Regions from separate parts of the Homo sapiens genome. Here regions 1, 2 and 4 are each linked to region 3. Evidence: promoter capture Hi-C in human tissues and cell types (Jung and others, 2019). All regions are on one chromosome and are shown on one strand. Each heading gives the region's core, a stretch centred on a gene start or on the middle of the fragment in contact. The rest is flanking DNA. Distances are from core to core; before and after follow the strand shown. Region 1 holds the start of ZNF773 (zinc finger protein 773). Region 2 holds the start of ZNF548 (zinc finger protein 548). Region 3 overlaps ZNF582 (zinc finger protein 582). Region 4 holds the start of ZNF17 (zinc finger protein 17).

What was found. The method cuts DNA at HindIII sites, captures the fragments that hold promoters and counts their contacts. A contact is called where the count stands out against the background at its distance.
Region 1: a contact is called between the fragment with the promoter of ZNF773 here and a fragment that was not itself captured in region 3, in 1 of the 25 tissues and cell types used here (spleen).
Region 2: the fragment with the promoter of ZNF548 here is called in contact with a fragment that was not itself captured in region 3 in 2 of the 25 tissues and cell types used here (aorta and stomach).
Region 4: a contact is called between the fragment with the promoter of ZNF17 here and a fragment that was not itself captured in region 3, in 1 of the 25 tissues and cell types used here (dorsolateral prefrontal cortex).

Annotation. Positions count from the first base shown.
Region 1 is chr19:57,494,219-57,501,241 of GRCh38, forward strand. ZNF773 (zinc finger protein 773) reads left to right here and starts at 5,720. Exons shown (of 4, transcript NM_198542.3): 1 at 5,720-5,895. The coding sequence starts at 5,863. It overlaps ZNF419 (zinc finger protein 419), which reads left to right. Exons shown (of 5, transcript NM_024691.4): 5 at 1-1,880. The HindIII fragment of the contact is 9,164 bases long and covers 1,360-7,023 here.
Region 2 is chr19:57,385,934-57,393,279 of GRCh38, forward strand. It overlaps ZNF548 (zinc finger protein 548), which reads left to right and starts at 3,921. Exons shown (of 4, transcript NM_001172773.2): 1 at 3,921-4,181. The coding sequence starts at 4,167. RefSeq lists enhancers at 3,479-3,558, 3,699-4,178. The HindIII fragment of the contact is 10,310 bases long and covers 2,108-7,346 here.
Region 3 is chr19:56,384,192-56,391,291 of GRCh38, forward strand. ZNF582 (zinc finger protein 582) reads right to left here. Exons shown (of 5, transcript NM_001320371.4): 3 at 6,184-6,310; 4 at 5,810-5,905; 5 at 1-993. It also overlaps the pseudogene SLC25A36P1. Among named protein-coding and RNA genes, the nearest start is that of ZNF582, 5.8 kb to the right of the region's middle. RefSeq lists an enhancer at 1-669. The HindIII fragment of the contact is 6,001 bases long and covers 1-5,395 here.
Region 4 is chr19:57,408,761-57,415,825 of GRCh38, forward strand. It overlaps ZNF17 (zinc finger protein 17), which reads left to right and starts at 2,401. Exons shown (of 4, transcript NM_001330617.2): 1 at 2,401-2,646; 2 at 4,836-4,876. The coding sequence starts at 4,856. RefSeq lists enhancers at 2,405-2,514, 2,595-2,654 and a silencer at 2,898-3,100. The HindIII fragment of the contact is 3,744 bases long and covers 1,061-4,804 here.

The sequences.
Region 1 (7,023 bases), core at 4,470-6,969, 1.1 Mb after region 3:
TTTACAATGTGGACAATGTAGTGAATATGGAAAAAGGTTTCAGCCAAAGGCCTAACCCTATTCAACACCAGAAAGTTTACACTGGAGAAAGGCCTTAGGGTGACAGGTTATGTACTGTCTCTGAATCAATATGACCTCACTTAAAACAGAAACTCTGAGGATGGCCTTTATGAGGGAGCTGGCAATTGAACATCATTCATCTAAATATGCACACTGGAGGCAAGATGAGAATTCCTGACAGATTGTCCTTCCTGAGAAGACAGCCCTCTGCCTTGGAGCTCCAGAGAGAGGGAGCCCTGTATTCTTGGCTGTACCCGTCGAATGGAGTTTTGATCTCGCTGAGTTTGGAGTTGGGGGAGGAAAGGAGTGGTCTTGGTTCAAATGTGACTCACTTTTGCTGTTCTTGTGAATGTTAGATCTTCTTTAATAAATATTTATTTCCCATACACCCTTATGACCATTTCCAGAGACTGAATTGTGTTTTTATAATTTTCACCCTTTTGGCTGTGTAACAGGTCTGCAAAGCTCCTCATTCAGTTATTCTGTAAGTTGATCCAAATGTTTCAAATTTTAAGAACTTGCCAAATTGTGTTCTAAATGGTTAGCATTTCATATTTCCTCCTGGAATATATTAGATTTTCCATTTCTTCACATTACTGACAGTTTATATGTGTAGAAGTCATAGGCCATTCATTTTAGCCATGTTACTAAGTGTGAAGTAGTATTTCATTGTAGTTCTTAATTTGTATTTTTCCGATGACTCAGTTTTGAGCATTTTTTAATGTGTTTACTTGTCACCCATATATCTTCTTTAGTCAAATGTATTTTTTGCCTGTTTTTTAAAACATTTGGTTGGTTACAAGTTCTTAATATTTCTGGAGACAAATTCCTTATTTGATATAAGCATTGTCAATATTTTCTCATGGTCCATGGCTTTTGTTTTCTTTTCTTTTTTAAAATTTAGAGATGAGGTCGTGCTATGTTGCACAGACTAGTCTCTAACTCCTGGCCTCAAGTGATCATCCTGCCTCAGCCTCCCAAAGTGCTGGGATTACAGGCATGAGCCACCATGCTTGGCCTTGTTTTCAGTTCTTAACAGTATCTTTCCTAGAGCAGATTGTCTTAATTTTATGGAGCCCAATTTATCCATTTGTTATTTTATTCATTGTGCATTTGGTGTTGCATCCTCTTACTATACCATATCTTTGCCTATAAATAAAAGCCTTGACTGAGTGCGGTGGCTCACGCCTGTAATCCCAACACTTTGGGAGGCCAAGGCGGGTGGATCACGAGGTCAGGAGATTGAGACCATCCTGGCTAACACAGTGAAACTCCCTCTCAACTAAAAATACAAAAAATTAGCTGGGCGTGGTGGCGGCTGCCTGTAGTTCCAGCTATCCTGGAGGCTGAGGCAGGAGAATGGTGTGAGCCCGGGAGGCGGAGCTTGCAGTGAGCCGAGATTGCGCCACTGCACTCCAGCCTGGGGCACAAAGCCAGACTCTGTCTCAAAAAAAAAAAAAAAAAAAAAAAAAAAAAAAAAAAAAAAAAAAAGCCTTATGTGAGTATGCTACTGTAATCTTATGAATCTTTTTAAATATCCAACTTCTGAAATATTTGTAGGTTTAACTACAAATAAATAATTCAATATATAGATAAATGTGTACATATTCCCTATCTTTACTGAGAGCCTAGCAAGCCATGGCATTCCAGTAGTTTTGAGCACATTTAATACCCAGTTATTGGTTTATATCATTTTTTAATAAAAGGAACCAGAACTCCTTAGAGAAGAGGCTGTTTTCAAGTTGTGGCAGAAAAGGTACAACATGATTTGAGGAAATACTGCATTGGAAAATAAATAAATGTTCACAGAATAATGTTGACATATTAGCTTTTTATTGCTATCCTGACAAATCACCACAAACTTATGGTTTAAACAACACAAATATAACAGAAGTCTCACTGGGTTAAAATCAAAGTGTTGGCATGATTATGTTCCTTTCTAGAGTCTCAGGGAGGATCTGTTTCTTGCTTATTTCAGTTGTTAGCATATTTAAGTTCTTCGTGGTTGTAGGACTGAGATTCCTTTTTCTTGATGGCATCAGCTGAGGGTCATTCCTAGGATATATAAGAACTTTTATGAAAAAGGAAGAAGTAATACCAATTGTATACAAACTTCCAAGAGGACAAAGGTTCAAAGAATTCTGGACTATATGAAAGTTAGCATTAACAGGACACTAAAGCAGGCAATGACATTAAACAAAACTATAGACCAATAATCACATGAATATAGACACAGAGCCTTAAGAAAATTTTAGCAAATTGAGGCACTCGTCCTTCAAATCACCCCCTTGGGTCTCTTCCAAGCATACTTGCCTTTCTTTCCTGTTCTAAAGCCTTTTTAAATAAACTTGCACTCATGCTAAAACAAAACAAAAAGACATTTAGCAAATTGAATCCAGCCATATACAAACAATAATAAATCATAACCTAGTGAGGTTTATCAATAATACAAGTTTGATTCAACAATTCAAACTCTTTATTAATCTATATTAGCAGACTAAAATGAAAATCTCAAAATGTAATAAAAGCATTTTACAAAATTCAAAACTAGGTTATGATACATGCAACAAATTAAACAAGATGGTGATTTCTTCAACCTGATACAGCACATCTATGAAAAACAGCTAACAGCACATTTGATATATATGTGATCAAATATTTGATAAGCTGATTTTCCCCAACATTAGGAATAACATAAATACGTCAACATTCATCACTTCTCATTAAAAAAAAAATCTAATGATTGTAAAGGCAGAACCCAAACTGTCTGTATTTACATATGACATGATAATGTTGAAAATTCGAAATTATCTACTAAAAAGCTACTAGATCTAATAATTGAGTTTAGCAAGGTCCTAAGATAAAAAGGCCAGTGTATAAAAAGTAGGTGTCTCTACTAGGTTGGTATATAGCTAGCAAATACATGCTTGGCAACTGAAAAAATGTACTTCACAATAGCATAAAAATATGAAATATTTAGAAATAAATTTAACAAAATATGTTCAAGAACTTTAAAACATTCCTGAGAGACATTAAACAAGGCATAAATAAATGACACAAGAAGTTCCTGAATCTGAGACTTAATACTTTGAAGTTGTCAGTTTTCCTTTAACTATCCTAATAAAAACCTAATCTTTTAAATAAAAATTTACAAATGTATTCTAAAAAGTTACATGGAAATACAAAGGGCCTGGACTAATTGCCAAAACAATTTTATAAATAAGAATAAGTTTGAAAATCTTTATGACTTTAGGACATACAAACGTACAGTAATTGAGAGTACAGTATTAGCTAAAGGACAGAGATGAACAGAAGAGAACAGAGAACCCAGAAATACACTCACACAACACTCTATTGTCAATCTCTTTTCAAGAAAGTTGCAAAAGTAGTAAAACAACTTCAGAAAACAGTGTAGCAGCTTTAAAGGTAGCATAAGCTTACCATATAGTTTAGGAATCTTACCTATTGGGATATCCCCAAGAGAACAAAAGCATATGTTCTAGAAATACTTACACTTGCATGCTCAGCAGTTTTATTTATAAAACCCAAACACCAGAATTTGTTTTTAAAACACACACACACAAACTAAAATTTCCGTGAACAGAAGAATGAATAATCAATTATGGTATATCTTAACATAAAATACCATTCAACAACATAAAAGAATAAACTATGAATACAAGTAAAAATATCATAGATAAATCTGAAAATCCCTGAGCCAAGTGGAAGAAGCCAGACACAAAAGTTGACATACAGTATGATTCCATTTATATGAAATGAAGAAGCTGCAAAACTAGAGTAAAAGAATGCAGATCACTGGTTATTGAGCCTGCGGTCTGAGGGGGAAGGTTCTGACTGAAAGAGTACAGGAAAACGTTATCAGGCAATGGTAATTTTCTCTATCATGACTGTGTTGGTGGTTTCATGACAGTACAGCTGACCCTTAAATAACACAGGTTTGAAATGCACAGGTCCAATTATATGTGAATGTTTTTCAATAAATATACTGGAAAAAATTTTTGAATATTTGAGACAATTTCAAAAAACCAGAATTCATTGAAATAGGTATGCCAAGAATGCATAACACAAAATATATGTAGGTTCTATTTTATCATTACAAAACCAGAGCGATATTTTCTTTTCTTTTTTTTTGTTTTTGAGACGGATTCTCTCCCTGTCGCCCAGGCTGGAGTGCAGTGGCATGAACTCCACTCACTGCAAGCTCCACCTCCCGGGTTCATGCCATTCTCCCGTCTCAGCCTCCCGAGTAGCTGGGACTACAGGCACCTGCTACCACACCCGGCTAATTTTTTGTATTTTTTAGTACAGACGGGGTTTCACCGTGTTAGCCAGGATAGTCTCGATCTCCTGACCTTGTGATCCACCCGCCTTGGCCTCCCAAAGTGCTGGGATTACAGGCGTAAGCCACCACCTCCCTACTCTTTCTACCCAATAAATATGAAGGTCTGTGGAAGCTCAGGGCCCTTCCTCACTAGAAGCAAGAAGCCCCCTGACCCCTTCTTTAAAACAGATTTATTTTGCCTTTGTTTTCATTTCTGCATTCGTTCCCCTTCGTTCAGTCCCATAGTAACTGTGACAGGAATATGGAGCAGAAATGGATGAAGGGGAGAAATTGAGGGGGAGTTGGCTTATGGGTTTGCTGCCTGTTGTTGTGCCTTTACACCAATGTTGGGTCCTTGAGGAAGGAAAGAACACAAATGAGAATGGGGTGAAAGAGGAACGTAAATCCTTGGGCTCCCCTACTCTCTCATCACCTACATCCAGAATTCAGAGCCTTTTCTTATTATCATACATCAGGCATTAATATTGGGTGTCCCCTTGCCAAAGGAAATTTAGGAAGGTATACGTGGCTTTGCCCAGTGAAACCTCTTTATGGTGGCCCTGAAGATCCTCTTCAAGTCCTTCAAAAGAAGGAAAGATTGGAGTATCAGCTGCAGGAAACTGAAATCCAGGCCCATCTCCAATTACAACAGGTTCCAGATGAGTCCGAGAGTTCTCGACACTCATTTCTCCTCCATCTCCTACTCCATCATCTCCATCTCCATCTTCTCCATCATCTCCATCTTCATCATCATCTCCATCTCCATCATCTCCATGTCCATCATCATCTCTATCTCCATCATCTCCATCTCCATCATCTCCATCTCCATCATCATCTCTATCTCCATCATCATCTCTATCTCCATCATCTCCATCTCCATCATCTCCATCATCTCCATCTCCATCTCCTACTCCATCATCTCCATCTCCATCTTCTCCATCATCTCCATCTTCTCCATCATCTCCATCTTCTCCATCATCTCCATCTTCATCATCTCCATTTCCATCATCTCCATCTCCATCATCATCTCTATCTCCATCATCTCCATCTCCATCATCTCCATCATCTCCATCTCCATCTCCATCTCCATCATCTACCGTCTCCAATCTCCATCTCCGAAGTTATGCCCACTTCCTCGAAGTTTGGAGCCACGCGAACTACACTGCCCAGAAGGCGCCGCGCCGTGAGCCGCGATGCTTGGCCAATGAAAAGAGGTCTACCCGAGAGTGCGACGCGCAATGGGCGGGACTTCCGGCGTCTCCCCTCGGCGGTTGCTTTCGCTGCCCTCAAGAGAACTCAGCTTGCCGGAAGCTGGTTGTTCGCTGCGGCGACCAGCTCCGGAAAGCGCGGTGGGGACGCGCTGTGTTCTCGCAGCTCAGAGGCGGGTCTGAGGCTCGGTGGCGGCGCCCAGGGTGGCCCGGGCCCTTTCCTCGGTCGTTGTCTCACCGCCACAGGCTCCGATGGCGGCGGCCACGCTGAGGGACCCCGCTCAGGTGAGCGCCGCGTCCTCCCGGCCTCCCCCGAATCCTAAAGCCCTGTGAGGGCCGCCTGCTCAGGTCCCCGGGTGCAGAACTGTGGGGCGTTCGTGGGCGGCGTCCCGTTTCTGACACGCAGTGTGATGGGGTGGCAATGGAGGGCAAGGGGCCCGGCTCGCAAAGATGTGAGGCGCATTCAGCGAGTCCCGAACCTGAGGCCTCCTGGTGTCTGTAGTGGGCAGCTTGGGAAGGGACGAGGCGCGTGTCGAGCGACAGCCCGAGCAGCTGCGCTTTCATCCTGAGGGGGCCACAGTGGCCGCGGAGGGCTGGAGACAGAAGAGTGACAAGATCTGTTTCTCAAAGTTTGCCAAAGGCCCTTCAAGTCAAAACAGACTGGGGTGGGGGTGAGGCGGGTGAAGACAGACCTGTGAGTAGGTAAATTCAGTAGACTAGTGGAGAGTCTACTGGGACTGGGCCACAGAGGAGGGGAAGTGATCAGATCTTGGATGGATTTCAAAAACTGAACAGACGGGAATTCCTGTTGCATCAGATGTGACTGTGAAAGAAAGTAGGGAATGAAGAGCCATTCTGGATTTTTATTTGTATTTTTGTTTGTTCCTGAATATCAGGAAGGATGGAGATGGGTAAGGCTGTGCAGGGAATAGGTTTTGGGCATGGTGATCCTGAGATGTCCCAGAGTGGAGGTGTCATGTCCACATGAGCAGCTGGAAGGCCTGGGGCTCGTATTTAGGAGGGAGAATCTTAAAGTTTTCTTTCAGATGGTCCCTGAGGTGAGGGAAGGGAGAGATGGGCCTGTAGGATGGGGCAGCCTCTACAGCCTGGAGTTTCGTGGTCCGAAGTGATTTTGTCTGGTGCCTGCAGGAATGGAGGGTTATAGAGTATGAACACCCAGGACTGGATGGAGACCGCAGTGTTGGGTAGTATATAGGTTTGCCACTCCAGGCTTAGTAGTTCCTCATGTCCAGTCCATATGGAGAAAAGGAAAGGTCAGCCAGGCTGGTGGAGCAGCACCTTTGGTGCCTAAGTTTCCCTAGCTATCAGCACAGGTGGGATGATCAACTGCTCCAGTAGAAGGGAGGGCTCTCAGCAGGATGGTCTTCAGGGGAGTATATAGCAGGCAGCCAG
Region 2 (7,346 bases), core at 2,671-5,170, 1.0 Mb after region 3:
TATATTCATATAATTAAAATATAAGTAATAATTTATATTCAATTAAGAATAAATGGGGCCAGGCGTGGTGGCTCATGCCTGTAATCCCAGCACTTTGGGAGGCCGAGGCAGGCGGATCATGAGGTCAAGAGATCGAGACCATCCTGGCCAACATGGTGAAATCCCGTCTCTACTAAAAATACAAAAAAATTAACTGGGCGTGGTGGCGTGCATATGTAGTTCCAGCTACTTGAGAGTCTGAGGCAGGAGAATCACTTGAACCGGAGAGGCGGAGGTTGCAGTGAGCCGAGATCACACCACTGCACTCCAGCCCAGCGACAGAGTGAGACTCCGTCTCAAAAAAAAAAAAAAGAATAAATAGATTTTGATATCTCAAGGGAAAAAAAGTGATATTCCTATTTGTCTGCAGGGCAGAGCTGTAGTGGTCAGGCAGTCTCCTCAAACAAAGCCAAAACTGCTATTATATGAGCTTTTAGGAAGGCTGGCCTTCAGGGACTGAGGACTTTCAGAAGCAGCAGAGTTGAAAGACTGATGGACTTTCAGGTATGTTAGTGTAAATGCAACCATTTACCAACTGGCTTTCATAAACAGGATTACTGACAGGAGGCACTTGTGGATTAGTTGTTGCCAGCAGCCTGGGGCTGCCACTGATTGACCATCTTTAGTACTGGGCCTTACCCCCATTGGAAAAATTTTAGAATCTTGGCCTAACAATGATTTGCTAAGTTTCTGGTTAATTACTGGGGTGAAGCTTTTGCTGACTAGCTGACTTTTAAAGCATAGGTACACATCCCAAGTTATCTCTAATTAATGGTGGTTTCTTGTTTATGATTATGGATTTGGGGCAGAGATAAATTTTTTCCTTACTTGAACATAAGCCAGCAACTTAATTCTCATTCCCCATTTTTGGTTTCCCAACAGCCAGAATTTGTAAGAAATCATATGCTATGGTTTGGATGTTTGTCTCTTCCAAAGCTCATGTTGAAATTTAATTTCCAATGTTTGAGGTGGGGCCTAATAGGAGGTGTTCTGGTCATGAGGGTAGATCCTACCTGAATACCCCCACTTGAAGATGTGTAAATTCTCACTCTATTAGTTCCCAAGAAAGCTGGTTGTTGAAAAGAGCCTGATACACTCCCCACCCACTGTCCTCCTCTCTTGCAATATGATTCCTTCGCATTATAGCTCTCTTTCGTTTTCCACCATGAATAGAACCCGCCGAAGACCCTCACCAGATGCAGATGCCCAATTTTAAACTTTCCACACATCAACATTTTGAGCCAAATAAACATTTTTTTCTTTATAAATTACCAGCTTCAGGTATTCATTTATAGCAACGCTAACTGGACTAAGACATCATAAGTATTATCTAGATATTTGTTTGTGAGGATATGATTTTCAACTCATGTTGCCAATGAGTAATTTAACGGCCAGTTACAGTCTGAGAAAAATGTGTCTCCCACTGGTGATTCTTTGTAATATATTACAACCAGCTGATATGTAGGATATGTAGGCCATTCTGATAAGTCAATACAGGATTCAGGAAAAATCGTTATATATAGGTCATATTCTTAAACTGTGCCCAGGTCTTAATTAATAATTAGCAATGACACAGAGGGGACACTGCCATCAAAAGAAAAGATTAATGTTACAGTTCCCTGGAAATAAGAGGCACTGAACACCACACAGGCCACAAGAAACCTTATTACATACAGAGACTGGAAAGCAGAAAGAGAAAACAGAGTAACTGGAAGTATGTCTTTATAACTAAAGTGGCAGAGAATGATGAGGTAGAGATACCGTCGATGGGCAGGAAGGAAAAACACATTTTAGTGTTTGTGGTTGGGGGGTTTTATATGAGTTTCATGCACTTGAGTAAGTGGCTTGCAAGAAAAAAAGTAAACAACTTTGGTTCTATTAGTTTGACCCTGTGATTAATGAATATCAAACAGACAAATACAGAATCTAAGAAAACATAGAACAGTCCTGTATACACATAGCAGCTGGGAAACCTATTCCCAGTGTGTCCCATGCACCTATCATTGATCTGAAACCCAATACATATGTGCTCATTGAACATTTACTAGAGAAGTAAATACACATTATCACACAGCTTCTCTATTCATTTTTATCTGTGGCAAGTCTTTCAGTTTATCATCTGTACTTACCCCTCTAAGCAGTTAATGAGCAATGTTTTCAAGTGTGTAAAAAAATTACATTTTGGAAACAAAAGCATAGTGTGTCCAAGTGTCCAGCAGAGCCACAGGTTCAACTTCATTCTCTGACTTCTCAGAATTTGCTGTCTCTCACTCAAACATTGAGATCTTATCTTTTTCTCACATTACAGATCGATTTCTCTAGGGCTTCTGGTTTTTTTTCTTTTGGAATAACCTACATAATTACTAATAGATTTCGGTAATTTTTTTATTTCACAAGTGTTTTTCACATTTCGACTCCCTGTGCAAATACAGTTGTAAACACAGGTGAAATTTTAAATCACTTCTGAGGAAGAAGATAACATCATGGAATTCCACACCTTTTTTGAGGATAAGATGTGCATATGCTTCAACTATGAAAACGGTAGACAATGTTGTCCAGAAATGGCATGTATCAGCTGCTCTTGAGAAATAAAAATAAAATTCTAAGCACCCCCTAACTGACTGAATGGATGCCCTCTTGACCATGAGAACCCTAGAATAACTTTGGAAGCTGAATTCACCACTATAGAGGAACGGGAAATCAGACACACCTCATTATATCCCCTACCACACTACAATCATTAGGTTTTCTTCCCTAAGGGCTAAATAGAAATCAACCTTTTCAGAAGACTACTAGCTTATCTTCCAAGGTACAGAACAGAGAGAAGATGAGATTATTCATTCCTTCATCCTTCTCTGAGACATCTTCTTTATTCCCTTTTCCCCTCACGTGTTTACTCTATCTTATGTAAAATGTAGATTTACTGGGCACTAACTAAAGTTTCACATGTCTGTAATCATTTGTCTCACTGCCAACCCCTCTTCCTTTTTAAGGAAAATGTATAATAAATACTAAACCTCCTAAGAACCTCTTTGGAAAAACCAGCCACAGATGCTTCTGTGACTTACATTTTTCTGGATGTGCCCTTAGGCTGGTCCAGTAATCCTCCATGATTTGTGACTTATGCCTCAATCACTCATTTTGGTCGTCACTCTCATTTTCAGATAGGATTGTGATTCTTAAAATAAATGGAAAATATCTCAGATATGAAGTAGTAAGTATTATTAGAATAAAAGCGTTGCACCCTTCGTAGGAACACAATCGCTGACTCTACAGTCAGGTAAGATGTATTCTCTTTGATCCAGAGGCATAGCTTCACCCTTTCAACCTACTTCAGCGTCTCCTGTCATCCTTCCTACAAATTCCAGTCCATAGCCCTAACTGCGTAGTCTTTCTTTCTTCTTCTGGACCAAACATATTGAAGCTTACTAAACAGACGCCAAAGCGTAACTGTATGTGTATTTGAAAAGCAATAATATGGCTGGCAGGCATGAGTAGAGGCAGACTGCCTTTATGGTATGGGGTGTCTCTTTGGACCTGTAGTTATTGGGAATTAGCTGTGCTTAATAGAGTCTTAAGTAATAAGTTGCTAACATTTCTGTAAATATCCTATACTACAATCCAAAAAAATACCGTATGTTGCCTTTAAGAGCAAGCCAAGCCCCCTCCTGTCTTTGGAGTCGGGGACTCCGTTTCCCAGCTCCCCTGACAGTGCCACTGGGCCTTTATCTGCCATATAAGGACTGATCAACGCTCTAAGACAAGTCCGGAAGCGGTGTCGAAACTTCATAACCCAGAAGACACTGCAGCTCTCGGCGGCACGACTTACCCAATAAAGGCTTAGAAGGGGACGTTTGCGTGCGTGCGCACCGTCGGAGGGCGGGACTTCCGCCGTCCTCCTGGTGGTGGTCGTTTTGGTTCTGTGTGGTGTTTCACCAACTTCGGCCTATGGCTCTGTCTGACGTCACCGAAGTGACGGAACGGAAAAGCGCGAGAAGCGGCTCGGTTCCCACCACGGAGAGGCGGGAGTGAGTCAACTGACAAGCGCTGGGGACAGTGGCGTCCTTGTCTTGCCTTTGTCGCTCCCGCCCCGCTCTTCCCTGGCTGGGCTGGCGGAGGCCTTGCTGATGAACCTGACTGAGGTGGGTGTCCCGTCCCAGGCTCCCCCGCCCGACCGGTCCTCCCAGTGCTGAAGCCCCCTGAAGGGGCCCTGCAGGTCAGGCCCCTTGTCCCGAAGAGAGGGGCGTTCCTGTGTGGGGTCCCCGTATCAGCCGATTTGATGCAGCCTCAGAGCTCCCGTTAGGGACCTCAGGTTCAGAGCATGGAGGCGCTGCCGAGTGGGCTGTGTTGGGGCGTCAGGGGTGTGTGTTGTTTCTGCGGGAAAGAGAGGGTTTTGTGAATTCTCGCTTGGAATGGCAACCTGAGCAGCCAGTAACCATGGAAGGTTGTCAAGGGAGGGACAGTTGGAGGGGGCAGGTCCAGAGTTCGAAGTTTCAAGTTAGGAAAACCAGGTTAGGAATGGACACAGGGAGACGCGAAAAGGCCCTGAGGCCACTGCAGTAGACCCAGGAGAATTATGGTTGGGGCTGGACCAGTGACAGTAGAGGGAGATGTGATGAGATTCTTCATAGGCCTGAAAGATAGGGCCCGTAGGTTTTCCTGGTGCTTCAGTTATGTCTGAACAAAGGCAGTGAAGAACCGTTTCAAGTGTTTGTTTTGTTTTTTGTTTTCTGTTTGAACGTTTGGAAGAATGGAGTTGGGGAAGTCAGCATAAAGAGCAGATTTCCGGGAGAAGATCACAGGTTGGATTTTGGACATGGTGATTCTCAAATGTCTCAAGATGGATATGTCACACAGACAGGTGGACATAAAGGTGTGGAGTCTGAGGAAGGGGATTGGGTTGGCGATACCAGACGGATGGAGGGCTTGGACTGGGCCAGAGAATGGTCTGAGGATCAGATTGAGTAGGTCGGTCTCGGGTTTTTTTTGTTTGTTTGTTTGCATAAATTTAAGGAGTCAAGTGCAGTTTTGTTATATGGATATATTTGCATAGTGGTCAAGTCTGGGCTTTTAATGTATCCATCGCCTGAATAATGTACATTGTATCCATTAAGTAATTTTTCATCACTCATCTTCGTCTCATCCTTCTACCTGTTTGGAGTCTCCAATGTTTGTCATTCCACACTCTTTGTCCATGTGTACACATTATTCAGCTTCCACTTGTAAGTGAGAACATTTGGTATTTGACTTTCTGTTTCTGAGTTGTTTCATTTAATAATGGCCTCCAGTTCCATCCACATTGCTGTAAAAGACATAGTTTCATGCTTTTTTTTTTTTTTGTGGCCTAGTGGTATTACCTTGTGTATATATATGCCACATTTTCTTTACCCAGTCATACATTGATGGATAATTGGTTAATTCCCTATCTTTGCTATTGTGAATAGTGCTGTGATAAAAATACATGTTTTTTTTAATGTAATGATTTATTTTCCTTTGGGTAGATGCCCAGTAGTGGAATTGGTGGATTTAATGGCAGTTCTATTTTCAGTTATTTGAAAAATCTTCATACTGTTTTCCATTGAGGTTGTACTTATTTACATTCTCACCAACAGTGTGTAACCTTTTTCTCTTCTCCATATCCTGGGCAACATCAGTTGTTTTTTGACATTTAAATGATAGCCATTCTGACTGGTGTAAGGAGATACTGTGGTTTTAATTTGAATTTGTCTGATGATTAATGATGTTGAGCATTTTTTTATATGCCTGCTTGCGATTTATGTGTCTTCTTTTTGAAAAATGTCTGCCCTGTGCTTACTGTTTTTTTTTTTTTTTTTTTTTTGAAATGGAGTCTCGCTCCGTCGCCCAGGCTGGAGTGCAGTGGCGCGATCTCGGCTCACTGCAACCTCCACCTCCCAGGTTAGTTCAAGCAATTCTGCTGCCTCAGCCTCCCAAGTAGCTGGGATTACAGGTGCCCACCACCACGCCCAGCTAATTTTTTGTATTTTTAGTAGAGACGGGGTTTCACCATGTTGGCCAGGCTGGTCTTGAACTCCTGACCTCAGGTGATCCACCTGCCTCGGCCTCCCAAAGTGCTGGGATTACAGGTGTGAGCCACCGCGCCCAGCCCTGTGCTTACTGTTAATGAGATTTTTTGTTGTTGTTTTTTTGTTATGTTTTGTTTGTTTGTTGTTGAGTTCTTTGTAAATTCTGGATATTAGTACCCTGTCAGATGCATAGTTTGCAAATATTTCATCCCATTTTTCAGGTTGTACATTTACTTGGTTGATTAGTCCTTTTGCTATACAGAAGCTGTTTAGTTTAATTAGGTCCTGTCTACTTTTGTTTATGTTGTTTATGCTTTTGAAGTCTTATTCATGAATTTTTTTGCCTAGACCAATGTCCAGAAGGGGTTTCCCTGAGTTTTCCTTTAGTATTCTTCGTTCAGGTCTTACATTTAAATCTTTAATTCATCTTGAGTTGATTTTTGTATATGGCAAGAGAAATTGGTCCAGATTCATTCTTTTTCATATGGCAATCCAGTTTTCCCAGCACATTTTATTGAAAAGTGTGTCCTTTCCGTAGTGTGCATATTTGTTGCCTTTCTCAAAGATCAGTTGGCTATAGATATGTGGCTTTATTTCTAGGAACTTTGTTCTGTTCCATTGATCTATGTGTCTATTTCTGCAGTCAAATGCTTTACCACTGAGCTGTACACCTTATGTGTCTATTTCTATCCATTACCATGCTGTTTTGGTTACTAACAACTTGTAGTATAATTTGAAGTCAGATGGACTTAATTTGAGGGAAATCTTGAGGTTGTCATTTCAGGTGGGCTCTGTGTTGAGAGAACAGGGGGCTGAGACTTGGGGGCCAGACCATTGGTGGCTCCACAGACATCATACTCTGTCCAGAACGGTGCAGACCTGGCATAACAGGGATTCTGGATTGCATCTGTAAAAAGGGAGGCCTGGACTGGGTAAGCATATGGCCTGGGATGGAGGCTGAAGTGTGAGGTGGTTTCGATCCTGCACCTGCAGGCTTGGTTGACCCTCAGGGCCACTCTCTGTTGAACAAGAGAAATGTTATTGAGGCTGGTGGAGTAGCTGGGTTCCAGATCAGAGCACTGCTTTTTCCCCTTCTCTACATGTCAGGGCTACAGGGGATGATCTACTGCTCCAGCCAAGGTCTCCTGGCAAGCTCACTTTAGAAGATTATGTAGCAGGTAGACCTGGTTGCAGAAAGGACCAGTACCTGACCTGCCTACTCTTCCCTTCTCTATAACTCATTAACTTAATAATGTATGAAAC
Region 3 (7,100 bases), core at 1,145-3,644:
GTGAGACCCGTTTGAAGGCCCTACCACATACCTTACATTGGTAGGGTTTCTCTCCAGTGTGAATTCTCTGATGTTGCTTGAGTTGTGAGCTCACTCTAAAGGCCTTTCCACATACTTTGCACTCATAGGGTTTCTCACCGGTATGAATTCTCTGATGTCGTATAAGAGTTGAGCCTTGATTAAAAGCCTTCCCACATTCCTTACATTCATAGAGTTTCCTGCCAGTATGAACAGTCTGATGTTGAATCAACTGAGAACGATGACTAAAGGTTTTCCCACATTCCTTGCATGCATAGGGTTTTTCACCAGTATGAATTCTATAATGTACTTTAAGATGTGAGATCCGATTGAAGGCCTTGCCACATTCCTTACACTGATAGGGTTTCTCGCCTGTGTGAGTTCGCTGATGTTCAATCAACTGTGAGCTTCGACTAAAGGCCTTCTCACAATCTTTACATTCATACGGTTTCTCACCAGTATGAACTCTCTGATGTTGTATAAAATTTGAACCAGAATTGAAGGCCTTTCCACATTCCTTACATTCATATGGTTTCTTACCAGAATGAATATTCTCATGTTGAATTAGTCGTGAGCCATATTTAAAGGCCTTCCCACATTCCTTACATTTATAGGGTTTCTCATTAGTATAAATTCCTTGATGATTAATAAGGAGTTCCTTTTGCCAGAAGTCTTTTCTACATTTATTATACCCAAAAGGTTTTTCTCTAGTATGAATTTTCTGATAAAAAGTAAGGGATGCATGCTGGTCAAAAGTGGGCATTTCTTCATGTCTGATGATCATCTGATGGAAATGTCTGTCTGGATTTCCCTGTTGTCTGTCAAACTGGTTTCTGCATTCCCAATCATCTTGGAAACTTGAACACTCAAGACCATAACTTGTAAGGCTTTCCATTATCTCCCATTGGGGTGATTCGACTTCATAAACATGCTGCTTTGGAAATAATTCCTTGGTATCATATCTGGACTCCAATACTAAGAATGAAAAAAAGCGAATATGTTTGGCTTCTTTTTTTTTCCAGATAAAGGAACTAAAATAAGAACTGGAGGGTTTAGACTCAATGCCTATTAACTCTTGAATGTAGCTAAGCAATTATAAAATGGACAAGTAGAACAGTGAAAGGAAAATAACATACATGAGATGAGGGAGGCAATAAGAGAGGTTATAAAAGTGATTCTAAAATGTTAGTGTGGGGCTGGGCATGGTGGCTCATGCCTGTAATCCCAGTGCTTTGGGAAGCCAAGAAGGGAGAATCACTTGAGGCCAGGAGTTTGAGACCAGCTTCAGCAACACAGCAAGACCCCATGTCTACAAAATAATTTTTAAAAATTAGCCAGCTGCAGTGGCACATGCCTGTAGTCCCAGCTGAGAAAAGAAGACTGCTTAAGCCCAGGAGTTAGAGGCTGTAGAGAGCTATGATCACGCCAATGCACTCCAACTTGGGTGACAGAGGGAGACTTTAAAAAAAAAAAAAAAAGAGTTGGTGTGGGTCAGAATCACTATTGAACAATATTTTTTAAGACAGTAAATGTTTCTGTGAGACTCTAGAAAAGACAAATATAGAGTGACAGAAACCAAAGCAAATCATTGGTTTGACGGACTGTGCAGGAGGGAGCACAAGGGAACTTTTTGGGTTGATGGAAATGTTCGCTATCTTGATTGAGGTGATGGTTATGTGGGTGTATAAATTTGTCAACACTCATTAATAGCACATTTTAAAAATGCATTTTATTGACCATAAATTATGCCCCCAAAAGAGTGAATTTTAAAAAGATGATGGGGATTTCAAGATGAAAAGAGTTCCGGAGATGGACGGTGATGATGGTTGTACAACAGTGTGAATGTACTTAACACTACTGAACTGTACACTTGAAAATGGTGAGCACGGTAAATCTTGTATTTTACCACAGTTTTAAAAAATAAAAATAAAAGTGGTGTTGGAAGTGTGTGGTTGGATCTGCAACCTGCCTCAGTGCCTGGAGGACATGCAGGAGAATGAACCAGAGGAATATGCTGGTACAGTGGCAGCTATTCTCATGTGTCCGCTAGAAGTTAGAATGACATGGCTGCTGTCTTCCTCTGTGAAGCTTTTTATATCTGAAGTTTAGCTGAACACCATGGTGTTTTTTATATCTGAAGTTTAGTTGAACGCCATGGCTGAAGCCCATTATCAACTGAATGACATTTCTTAAATTTCTTAAATGTCATGCATTTACCTGAACCTTTTCATTTCTTAAAGGTGACCTTGGAAAAAGAAGGGCTTTTTTCCTTGTTTAGAGGATTAGGCCAGTTGATTGAGGGTGGGTCCTTCTAGAGCAACATACTTTGCTGATTATTCAAACTGCATGAAAAAGCTGAATGCTATAATGGACTGTGATTCTACCTGGTACATTATTTCAGCTACAGTGGCAGGTTTTACTGTACTTATAGCAACCAACCCCAGTTGACTTAAAGAGACTCAGATATAGCTTGACTACAGGTGGGCACCACCATGCTCAGCTAATTTTTGTGCTTTTTTGTAAAGATGGGGTTTCGCCATATTGCCCAGGCTGGTCTCAAACTCCTGGGCTCAAGCAATCCGCCTGCCTTGGCCTCCCAAAGTGCTGGGATTACAGGCGTGAGCCACCATCCCCAGCCTCAAAGTACTTTTTGCTGAGAATTTGATTCTGTCCTAATTTGCTGAATCATACATCATAGATTCAAGGTGATGTGCTAACAAGGATATCATTTTTAAATGTTGCCATGAAGTTCAAATGCACCTTTTCATACTTTAAATTGATATATGTATATAACCCTTAAACGTTTATGTTCATGATAATTCTGTTGAGACTTCTGGCTAAGGATGTTGCTATACTGGTATATAAAATGTGCACAATTAAACTCCAGTGTGATACTACTCATTTCAGTATATATGAGTGCTGTATTTTGTGCAGTAGCTTTATCTTAATATGGCTCTTTGTGAATGCACTTTATAGCATTTATTGAGGGTGAAAGAGCAGGAGGGAATTCTATGTTACGTATTTCTATAAAAACATTGGTCATTTATTCAACAGAACCAGTATTCCTAACATTTGTCTGGGTTTTAGATATGTTGTTCTGCAGATCTATTCACTGTAGTGATCCCAACATTATTGAAAATTACCAAGCTTTTACTGCTCTCACCAGTGAAAAACTGTACCTTCTTAAATTCTGTCAGCATGTCACATTTATTGTAATCAACAGTAACTGGATGTTTCTGAGGTGTTTTGATTGGACTCAAAAGTATTACAATCAGTTTGGAGACAAAAACACAATCTGCATTTTAGTTTAAGTATGACACTGATGACTTAAAAAAAAACTATATACAAACGTTCTATATAAAGTTTGCCTCCAAAGTATTTCTCTTTCTCTTTCTTTTTTGCAGGGGAGATGGGGTCTCATTCTGTTGCCCAGGCTGGAGTGCAGAGGCACAATCATATTATACTACAACCTCAAACTCCTAGGCTCAGGTGATTCTCCTCTGTCAGCCTTCTGAGTAGCTGGGACTACAGGCATGAGTTATTACGCCTGGCTGCAGAGGGATTTTAATATGTAAAAGTATTAACACAGTGTATTAACTTTGTGCCCACGCAAATCTCTTTTCTATCACATCCTTATGTTCTTCGACAGATTGACTTTTATGCTTCTCCTTTTAGAAACATAAAATTGTTTTATTCTTAGTTTTAAAAAACATTTGAATGTGTACCCTTGCTTATGCGAAGATTTATGACCTACTAGTCATAGCTAAATAGTCAACATTGTAAGAGCTGATACTTTTTGGTTCATGTGAGGTTTGGCATTCTTGCATTTATGTACACGGATGTCAATTGTGTGGACTTCTTCTGTATTTATGTTAACTAGCTTTTACTGAATTGTTGAAACTAAAAAAGTTAAAAACGTGCTTATAAAAAAAGGGGGGGGGGATTATGTCCAAAGAACCCAGGAGCCAGTTTGAAAGGGTGTCACTGGGCAAGTCTGGAAAACTATGAACGTTGTGATAAATAATGATAATGGGTAATAATCTGTTACAGGATAAAACAAGATTTATTTTATTCTGACCTGGAAATGAGAAAAAATATGCCACCTACTATTAATCCATATGATATAAATGAAGAAACAAATGGTGAAAGGGAGAAAGCTCTTCTTTACAGGAGTATGTGATCTAATAAATAAGAATAAAGTTTTTTTAAAAATCACTATTTTGTAACTATTAATCATATCTGATCCAAGAGAAAACTATCAATGACTTCTGAAACTAGCAGGTGAATAATTTGTGAGAAGCACAATATTTATATCCTCTCCAGGTGGACCATAAAATCATGGCTTGCCTCTATTTCTACAGTGCTTTCCCTCTGCCCACAGTGCAGAACCCAAACTTCATAACGTGGTTGCCTTTCCTAGCGTATCTTTTTTTTTCTTTTTGAGACAGAGTCTCTCTCTGTTGCCCCAGCTGGAGCGCAGTGGTTCGATCTCGGATCACTGCAATCTCCGCCTCCCGTGTTCAAGCGATTCTCCTGCTTCAGCCTCCCAAGTAGCTGGGATTATAGGCACGTGCCACCACACCCGGCTAATTTTTGTGATTTTAGTCGGGACGAGGTTTCACCATGTTGGCCAGACTGGTCAAGTGATTTGGCCGCCTCAGCCTCCCAAAGTGCTGGGATTATAAGCATGAGCCACCATGCCCGGCCCCTAGTGTATCTCTGTGTTCCTCCCTTTGCTCACTGACCTCAGCCACAAGGGCCATCCATTATCTCAGAGGTACCAAGGGCTCCCTGCTCAGGTCCTTCACACTCATTGGCTACAACTGGTATTCCCCAGCTACATCACACCTTCCATGTCTCAGCTGAAATGCCTTATCCTTGAAGAGGCCATTGGCCCTACCATGCACCCTGACTGAACCTGTTCTTTTTCTTTCACATATTAGCTCATGTCCAGTGTGTATGATTTCATGTCTATTTTCCCACTGCAGTGTAAGTTCCATGAAAGCAAGGATAATGTCCACCTGCCTCATCAATGTATACTGTGGCATATTCCATGGTGCATAATAAAAGCTTAATAAGTACTTGTTAACTGACTCCAGAATTCAAACAAACCGATACAAATTCCTTTAGAAAAATGGTCAAAGGACAAGATCATGTCCTTTGCAGGGACATGGATGGAGCTGGAAGCCATTATCCTAAGCAAACTAACACAGGAACGGAAAACCAAATACTGCATGTTCTCACTTATAAGTGGGAGCTAAATGAGGACACATGGACACACAGAGCGGGACAACACACATGGGCCTTTCAGAGAATGGAAGGTTGGGCGGAGGGAGAGAATCAGGAACAGTAACTAATGAGTACTAGGCTTAATACCTGGGTGATGAAATAATCTGTAAACAAACCCCCATGACACAAGTTTACCTATTTAACAAACCTGCACTTATACTCCTGAAGTTAAAAAAAATTTTAAATATTAAAATTAAAATTAATAAAAAAAGAAAAATGGTCAAAAGATACAGACATCTTTCCAAAGACAAAATACTTTCCTTAGGAACCACCATATTTGTACTCAGTCTAGCCCTATAATCCAGGTTGAATTTTTAAAGTGTTTCAGGAGGAAGGAGCAGCCACCTTTGTCAAATGCTGCTGACGAGCTGAGGAAAACAACACGTAAGACATAAGCTTTGAAGGTAGCAACCTGCAGGGAAGATCTTCTAAGACAAAGGGCCACTTCCAGCGGACCTGATACCTGCAGTGGCTGCTCCCTTCCCAATGATACCTCACTCACCTGGACACAGGCCTCCAGACACCACTCTCTCCACCATCCAGGGCTCTTTGCCTTGCTCTAGGAAGGAGATCACATCAGGTTTGGAAACGGCAAGACCTGGAGATGAGAAGAAACATGCCACCTGGTTATGGTGTGGGGGCCCCAGAATTCAGATCCAGGACCTGGTCATCAAGCAGGAGAGGCAGTTGCAGGAAGTGCCAGAGGAAGATGGGACAGTTGCCTGGGGGTAGGGGGATGCAGCTTCAGCCGACAGCGCCGCCCTTTAACCCCTCAAAAATGACCAACCAATCATAAGACTGAAAAGCACCCAAAAACTGACCAGGAAGGAACATGCCCAAGGATAACCTCCAAACTAACAGACGAGATCACCTTACCCAGTGAGACCAGGTTGCTGTAGGTCTCCAACATCACGTCTCTGTACAAATCCCTCTGAGCAGGTGCCAACCACTGCCATTCTTCTTGGGAGAAGACTATGGCCACATCCCTGAACAATTCTGACCCCTGGAATGACAGGCATGTATGATATATATGTATTTCAATGGTTCACAGTGGGATGAAAGGAGATGGGGCAGGTCTTTGCGGGAGGGGGGGTTGTTTTGTTGAACAAGAAGGGTGGGACTGAATGTGAAAGGTGACAGAAGAAATGGGGATGAGTAAAACAGAATGATCAAATTGTTCTCAAACATTCCTTTTAACTGCAAATCAATGCTCTGTGTACAGGTCTGGGATGAAAATTAAAATCAAGCTAAATGGAGTTTTCCTTATTGTTAAGAAACAGTGTAATAAAGCACACTGCCCACTCTATACTTGGCATACAATAAATTCTCAAGGTGAGACCTATCACTTCTATCTTTTGGAATAACAATAACAACAAAAAATATTTCTGATGGATTTTCCCCAAATATTTTATTTTTTAAAATTATGGAAACATGTTTTCTATCTTAGATACAGGATTTTCATGTAAGTCAAGAATTTCTTGGAGATGAAAGTTCATCATTATGTTGGAACATAACACAAGCATTTTTCTTCATGGGAAAAACCATGGAGATAACTTTTATTGAGTGCACAATTTTCTATCAAGTGAAACAACTGACTCAAACATCCTCTTATTTTGGATCCCGAGGTTGGATCAGATCTCTAAGGCTTTTCCAAGCCCTGACCACTCACCCACCTAGATGATCATCTCACTTGCTACATCGCTCACCATCCTCAGCTCTGTACTTTTCTTCCTCTTAAGCTAAAGAAACTAATGGAGGATGTCCCAGATTCAAATGCTCTGTCCAACGTCAAA
Region 4 (7,065 bases), core at 1,151-3,650, 1.0 Mb after region 3:
ATTAGCCAGGTGTGGTGGTGCACACCTGTAGTCCCAGCTACTCGGGAGCTGAGGCAGGAGAATTGCTTGAACCCAGGAGGCAGAGGTTGCAGTGAGCTGAGATCGTGTGACTGCACTCCAGCCTGGGCAACAGAGCGAGACTCTCTCTCTCTCCCTCTCTCCATATATATATATATATATACATACACATACACAAAGATATGTGGCCTGTCACCAAGTGTTAGATGGATGTTTGGGCCAGGCGAGGTGGCTCATGCCTGTAATCCCAGCACTTTGGGAGGCTGAGGCGGGTGGATCACCTGAGGCCAGGAGTTCAAGACCAGCCTGGCCAACATGGTGAAACCCCGTCTCTACTAAAAGTACAAAAATCAGCCAGGCGTGGTGGCCATGCCTGTAATCCCAGCTACTCAGGAGGCTGAGGCAGGAGAATCGCCTGAACCTGGGAGGCAGAGGTTGCCGTGAGCCGAGATCGTGCCATTGCACTCCAGCCTGGGCGACAGAGAGAGACTCTATCTCAAAAAAAGAAAAAAAAAGTTTGTTTAGTTTCTGTTGGTAAATATCTAGAAATAGAATTGTAGGATGGTAGGGATGTATTGTTGGTAAATGATTAACATGTTTTTAATTTTCAGTTTTTTCAGAGACGGGGATCTCACTATATTGCCCAAACTGGTTTTGAACTTATGAACTCAAGTAATCCTCCCGTCTTAACTTCCATGTAGCTGGCACTACTGAACAGCTTTAACTCTTCCAGACCTTCAGTTGGGTGGTTTTTTCTTTTCCTTTCGTTTCCTTCTTTCTCTCTCCTTCCTTCCTTCTTTTTGTAATTTGATAAACCAAATTTCAAGACTTTGGCCAAAAAACAGTCTTCTCCTTTACTGAATATCTCAGTGCTCCATTTTATTTTTCCCTCACCAATTCTGCAGGAGAGATCACAAGACTATGTCCATATCTTTATTTGTGGGGGTATGATTTTCAGCTAACATAGCTGCTAAGTGATTTAATTTACAATTATAGTGGTAGAAAAATAGCTCTAACTTCTGAGGTTTTGTAATTTATTGTAAAAAGCGGAATACAGGACATTTAAAGTGACCTGACAAGGTCAATACAGGACTGAGGACTAATTCATTAAATACGTCTTACGTGTCTTAGAGGACCACAGACAGCTAGCAACCCTACTCCTAATGTGTCCCATGCACTTAGTATTGTACCTGGCATCGAATGAGTGTTCATCAAATATGTTAGAGTAATAAATACGACAGCACAGTTTCCCTATTCAGCTTTACTTTTCTGGTAACTCTTTTAATATATAGTCTTTACCTCTCCCTTCAAGCTGTTAATGCACAATGTTTTCAAGTTTGAAAAAGAATCAGATTTTGGACACCAAACTTGAGTGTGTCCAAGGTTCCAGGACAACCTTAGCTTTTTTCCTCCTATCACAAATATGTTTCTCTATAACTATTTTTGCCACTTTCTTTGGATATCTACATAATCGTCATTAATAGTTTCAGTAATAGCCATTTCACAAGAGTTATTCAGAGACAATTTCAACTCCCTGTGCAGACACTGTTGATACAATTTCAGGCGAAATGATAAATCACTTTCCACTAATGAGATGAGATCATGCATTCCCAAACCTTTATCTCAGGAGTAAGATGCTTTCTTTGCACAAGGGCTTTGACTGGTGGAAGGCCACACTATTCTGGCAGATAATGGTAGATAAGTCGCTTTTCCTTTTCAGTTAGGTTTCAGTCTCTTAAAATAAGTGGAAAATATCTCAGATATAAAGTAATAAGTATCATGTGAATAAAGTGTTGCTGGGTAGGCTGAAAGACAATAACTGATTATTCAGAAAGGAAAGATATTACTCCTCAAACTCCCCATCATGCCATGTCTGGGTCTTTTCAATGTGCCCAGCAGAGCACATTGAAGATCATAAAACAGTCTCCAGAGCTTCGTTCTGTGTGTATTTGGCAAGCACAAAAGAGCTGACCGCTATGCGTGGAAGACCAGTTCTTTATGGTTGGCCATGTTCCTTCGGATGTTCGTCTTTTGGGAACTTGCTGTGCTTTACAGAATCTGAAAGGACAGGTCTCTGAAACATTTCTCTGACTTGTTCTAGACTGCCTTCCGGGAAAATCTGGATGCTTGCCGTTTAAAAGCCAATGAAGCCCCTCCACGTCCTTGGAGCCCCGCAACTGCATTTCTCAAAGCCTCAGGAGGATCCTCCTGGCTTTCATCCTGAACGCGAGTTAACTTAAGTTCAGAAGCGGGGCAGGCAGTGGCCTGGGAACTACATTACCCAAAAGACACAGCGGCGGACACAAGCAGCGAGTGTAGCCAATGAAGGCCTAGCAGAGCGGCGTCTACGGGGGTTCGCAATGCGTGTGGGCGGGACTTCCTGCAACGCCTCCTGGGGTTGTCAATATGGCTGCGTTGGGATCTGTTCACCTTCAGGCTGAGTCGAGACTGAGGTGAAAAAGCGGAAAAACGCGAGAAAAGGTTTCCCCGTTGTACAGAGGCTAGAGTGAGGCTCGGTTGAATCGGTTGCAGGCGTTGGTGCCTCTGTCAGCGTCCAGGTCACTGCCGCTCCCGCCCCGCTCTTCCCTGGCTGTGCTGGCGGAGGCTGCGCCGATGAACCTGACTGAGGTGGGTGCCGCGTCCCAGGGCGCCCCGCCCGATCCCTCCTCCGAGTGCCGAAGCCCCGAGGAGGGGCCCTGCAGGTCAGGCCCCTGTGTCCCAAAGAGAGGAGCGTTCTTGTGTGGGGTACCGGTGTCCGCGGTGCTGTGAGGCGGGGGAGCTCCTGTCAGGGACCTGCACGTGCGAGGCTTAGAGGTGCTGCAGAGCGGGCGGCACTGGGGAGCCCGAGCGTCTTTGTCTCCACGGAGCTGAGGGTGAGGCGGAGTCTCGCCTGGGAGGGCAGCGGAGCTGCTGAAAGCCGTAGAAGGCTGTGCAGGAAGGGTTATGCCCAGAGGTAGACGTTTAAAGTTGGGAAAAACAGGATGTTAAACCAGGACAAGGGGACCGCTGAGGAGACCCCTTGAGTTATGGTAGGGATGGGCCAGAGGGGTTGCAGTAGAGGGGAAGTGTGATGAGATTCTGGATGGATCTCAGAGATAGAGTCGACAGGATTTCCTGCTGCATCAAATGTAGCAGTGAGGGTAGTGAAGGGTCTATTCCATGGATTTTGTTTTGGCCTGAAAATCTGAAAGAATGGAGTTGGAGAAGTCAGCTTAGGGAGCAGGTTTCAGAGAGGATTATGAGTTGCATTTTGGAGGGCTGAGTTTTGGAGGGCAGATCATGGGTGGGTCCATAAGCCTGACGCTACCTTTAGAAAGGCGCAGACCTGTCATAGGAGGGATTCTGGCTCATATCTGCAAAAACGGAGTTCTGAATGGGTTAAGGAACTGGCCTAGGCTGGAGACTGAGGTGTGAGGTGGTTTAGATTTCTGCACCTGCAGACCCAGCAGCCCCCCAGGCCCACTCTGTGGAACAATAGGAAGGTCATCCAGACTAGTGGGGACATTGGGTCCAGACGGGGGTAGGGCTTTCTCACATCTAGTCAAGGGCCTCCAGCAAGCTTCCAGCAACTGAATTTGTAGCAGGCAGGCCTGGTTGCTGATGGGACCAGTAACTGACCTGCTTGCTTATCCCCTCCCTGCAACTTATTTATTTATGAATGTGTAAAACATTTTTTTTTTTTTTGAGACAGAGTCTCGCTCCATCGCCCAGGTTGGAGTGCAGTGGCGCGATCTCGGCTCACTGCAAGCTCCGCCTCCCGAGTTCAAGCAATTCTCCTGCCTCAGCCTCCCGAGTAGCTGGGACTACAAGTGCCCGCCACCACGCCAGGCTAATTTTTTGCATTTTTAGTAGAGACGGGGTTTCACCGTGTTAGCTAGTATGGTCTCTATCTCCTGACCTCATGATCTGCACGCCTCAGCCTCCCAAAGTGCTGGGATTACAGGCATGAGCCACCGCGCCCGGCCGAATGTATAAAACATTTATTTAACCACTAATGAACCAGTATCCTTCTAAATATGTACACATAGGTCGGCAGTTAGAAATGAATGTAACCAATAGTTAAATTTATTCACTTAATAATTGTTGAATGTTGATTTTTCTTTTTTCTTTTTTTTTTTGAGACGGAGTCTCGCTCTGTCGCCAGGCTGGAGTGCAGTGGCGTGGTCTCGGCTCACTGCAACCTCTGCCTCCCGGGTTCAAGCGATTCTCCTACCTCAGCCTCCCGAGTAGCTGGGATTACAGACATGCGCCACCATGCCCATCTAATTTTTGTATTTTTGATAGAGACAGGGTTTCACCATGGTTGGCCAGGATGGTCTTGATCTCTGCACCTCGTGATCCGCCCACCTCGGCCTCCCAAAGTGCTGGGATTAGAGGCTTGAGCCACCATGCCCGGCTGAATGTTAATTTTTCTATTTGCTTGCAATGGAAAGTTTTATGTATCACATTTCCTTAACACCGTAAGAAGTGGGAAAAATACACACCCAAAATTTCAAAACCCTTCCATGTCATTTGTACCGAAAACATGTAAAAAATATTTAATCCAGTAGAAAGAAATTGCTGATACATAGTGTGTACTACTTATATTTGATGCCCATATAAGCCCTATTAGTTGGCAATCCTTTTAATCTCTATTTTACACATAAGGGCACCGAGACTTAAGGAAGTTCAGTCCTCATCAAGACACTGAACCCTGAGGACTTACTGTGTACCCTCAGATAACTTTGCTCTAGTTGCAGGGCCAGAGGTGGTTGTACAGTCAGCCTGTAGGATGCTGCAATGCTGTCTTAATCCTCATGGCCTGCCTCTTCCCACAGGGTTCATAGCAGTGGCAGCAATGCTTATGGATGCTGGACAGGTGAGTGGAGAGTGTTTCCAGCTTTCACCCATCCCAGATGGTTTCAGCATGCTGATATAGGGAATGGTGTTATCCTGAGACTGTTCACCTTTTCTTCTCTCTCCCTTGGGTCCAAGGAGAGCCTGTAGTTCCACCAGACCTGGGTTCCAAACTCAGTGCCTGGTTATATAGAGTGGTTCTAGTTCTCACAACTGATGGTTTGAGATTTGGCAAGGCATCTCAAACACAGGATCTAGAATGTTCAAATGCTTGGTGGTGAGACTTAGATGGGATGCTTAGAGAACTGTAGCTTAATGTTCTAGCTGGCAAGGATAAGGAGCACAGCAGCAGGGCAGGAGGTCGGGGCATGCAGGGATCAGGCATGGAATGGCAGCCTGAGGTTGTCTAGGTTTTTGTTTTTGTTTTGTTTTGTTTTTGAGACAGAATCTTGCTCTGTCTCCAGGCTGGAGTGCAGTGGCGCGATCTCAGCTCACTACAACCTCCGCCTTCCTGGTTCAAGCGATTCTCCTGCCCCGGCCTCCCGAGTAGCTGGGATTATAGGCACCCGCCACCATGCCCGGCTAATTTTTGTATTTTTTAGTAGAGATGGGGTTTCACCATGTTGGCCAGGATGTTCTCAATCTCTTGACCTCGTGATCTGCCTGCCTCGGCCCTCCCAAGGTGCTGGGATTACAGGCTTGAGCCACCACACCTGGCCTTGTTTTTTTTTTTTTTTCCAGACAGAGGCTAACTCTGTCGCCCAGGCGGGAGTGCATTGATGTGATCTCGGATCATTGCGACCTCTGTCTCCCAGGTTCAAGCAATTCTCCTGCCTCAGCCTTCCAAGTAGCTGGGATTACAGGCATGAACCAACACACCCAGCTAATTTTTGTATTTTTAGTAGAGACAGGATTTCACCATGTTGGCCAGGCTGGTCTCGAACTCCTGGCCTCAAGTGATCTGCCTGCCTCAGCCTCCCAAAGTGCTGGGATTACAGGTATGAGCCACCGTGCCCAGTGGTTCTAGGTCTTTAATCTGAGGGGGGTAGTAGCTAGGGAAGGTTTGAGAAAGAAAAAAGAGGTGATTTGACCTAGATTCTTTTTTTTTTTTTTTGAGACGGAGTCTCCCTCTGTCGCCCAGGCCAGAGTGCAGTGGCGTGAACTCGGCTCACTGCAAGCTTCGCTTCCTGGGTTCACGCCATTCTCCTGCCTCAGCCTCCCAAGTAGCTGGGATTACAGGCACCTGCCATCATGCCCGGCTAACTTTTTTTTGTATTTTTTAGTAGAGCCAGGGTTTCACCGTGTTAGGATGGTCTCGATCTCCTGACCTCATGATCTGCCCGCCTCAGCCTCCCAAAGTGCTGGAATTACAGGCCTGAGCCACTGCACCCAGCCAGATTTGACCTAGATTCTAAGAGGCTTCCTCTGCCTGCAGAATGGAGGACAGAGTGAGAGTTAGGGAAGAACCAAGGATACCTGGGTGATAATTCCTGCCACAGTCCAGTGGAGGTTGGTGGTGGCTGGACACGAGTGGCGGCTGTGGAGGTGGGAGGGGTGGGTGGCTTCTGTAGGTTTTGATCTAGAGCTGCTCACATTTTTTGATGTACAGAGCGAGGAAGCTCGGGAGGTAGGATGCAAGAGGGAGTCAGGAATGGCCCCATTGTTTTGGCCTTGTTGAGAAGGTTGGATGTTCCAGCAACTAAGATGTGGTAAATTTTGTAGTAGGGGGAGTTTAATAGAGCATATGAAGAACGAGGTTTGGGCTAAGTCAAAAATGTTCCAGAGACTCGAGTAGAGGTGCCAGACTGGCAGTTGAACACACAGGAATGGAGTTCAATGGAGGTGTTCAGGATGGAGACATCTACTATATGATAGCCAGCGTGTACACCATGGTAAATCTGTGGGTCAGATTTAGGAATAGACATCTTTAGATTCTGGAGGCAATGCTGTTAGGGAGAAGGAAGGGGAAGGAAGGGGCTGAGGACTGGATCTTTCTGTTGGGCACCTGGATGGGGTTGCTGGGCATCACAAAGACAGATGAGGGAGTGGATGGACTGAGGATATGTGTGTGTGTATTTGTGTGTTTATGTTGGAGATGGCCTTTGGAAAATAAAGGCTTTTGAGGGGGAGAGTGCACATAAAAGTTGGATGGTGAGGCATCTCCACAAAAGAGGTGAGATGATAGTGAGGTCTGGGAGGGGCTTAGTACCC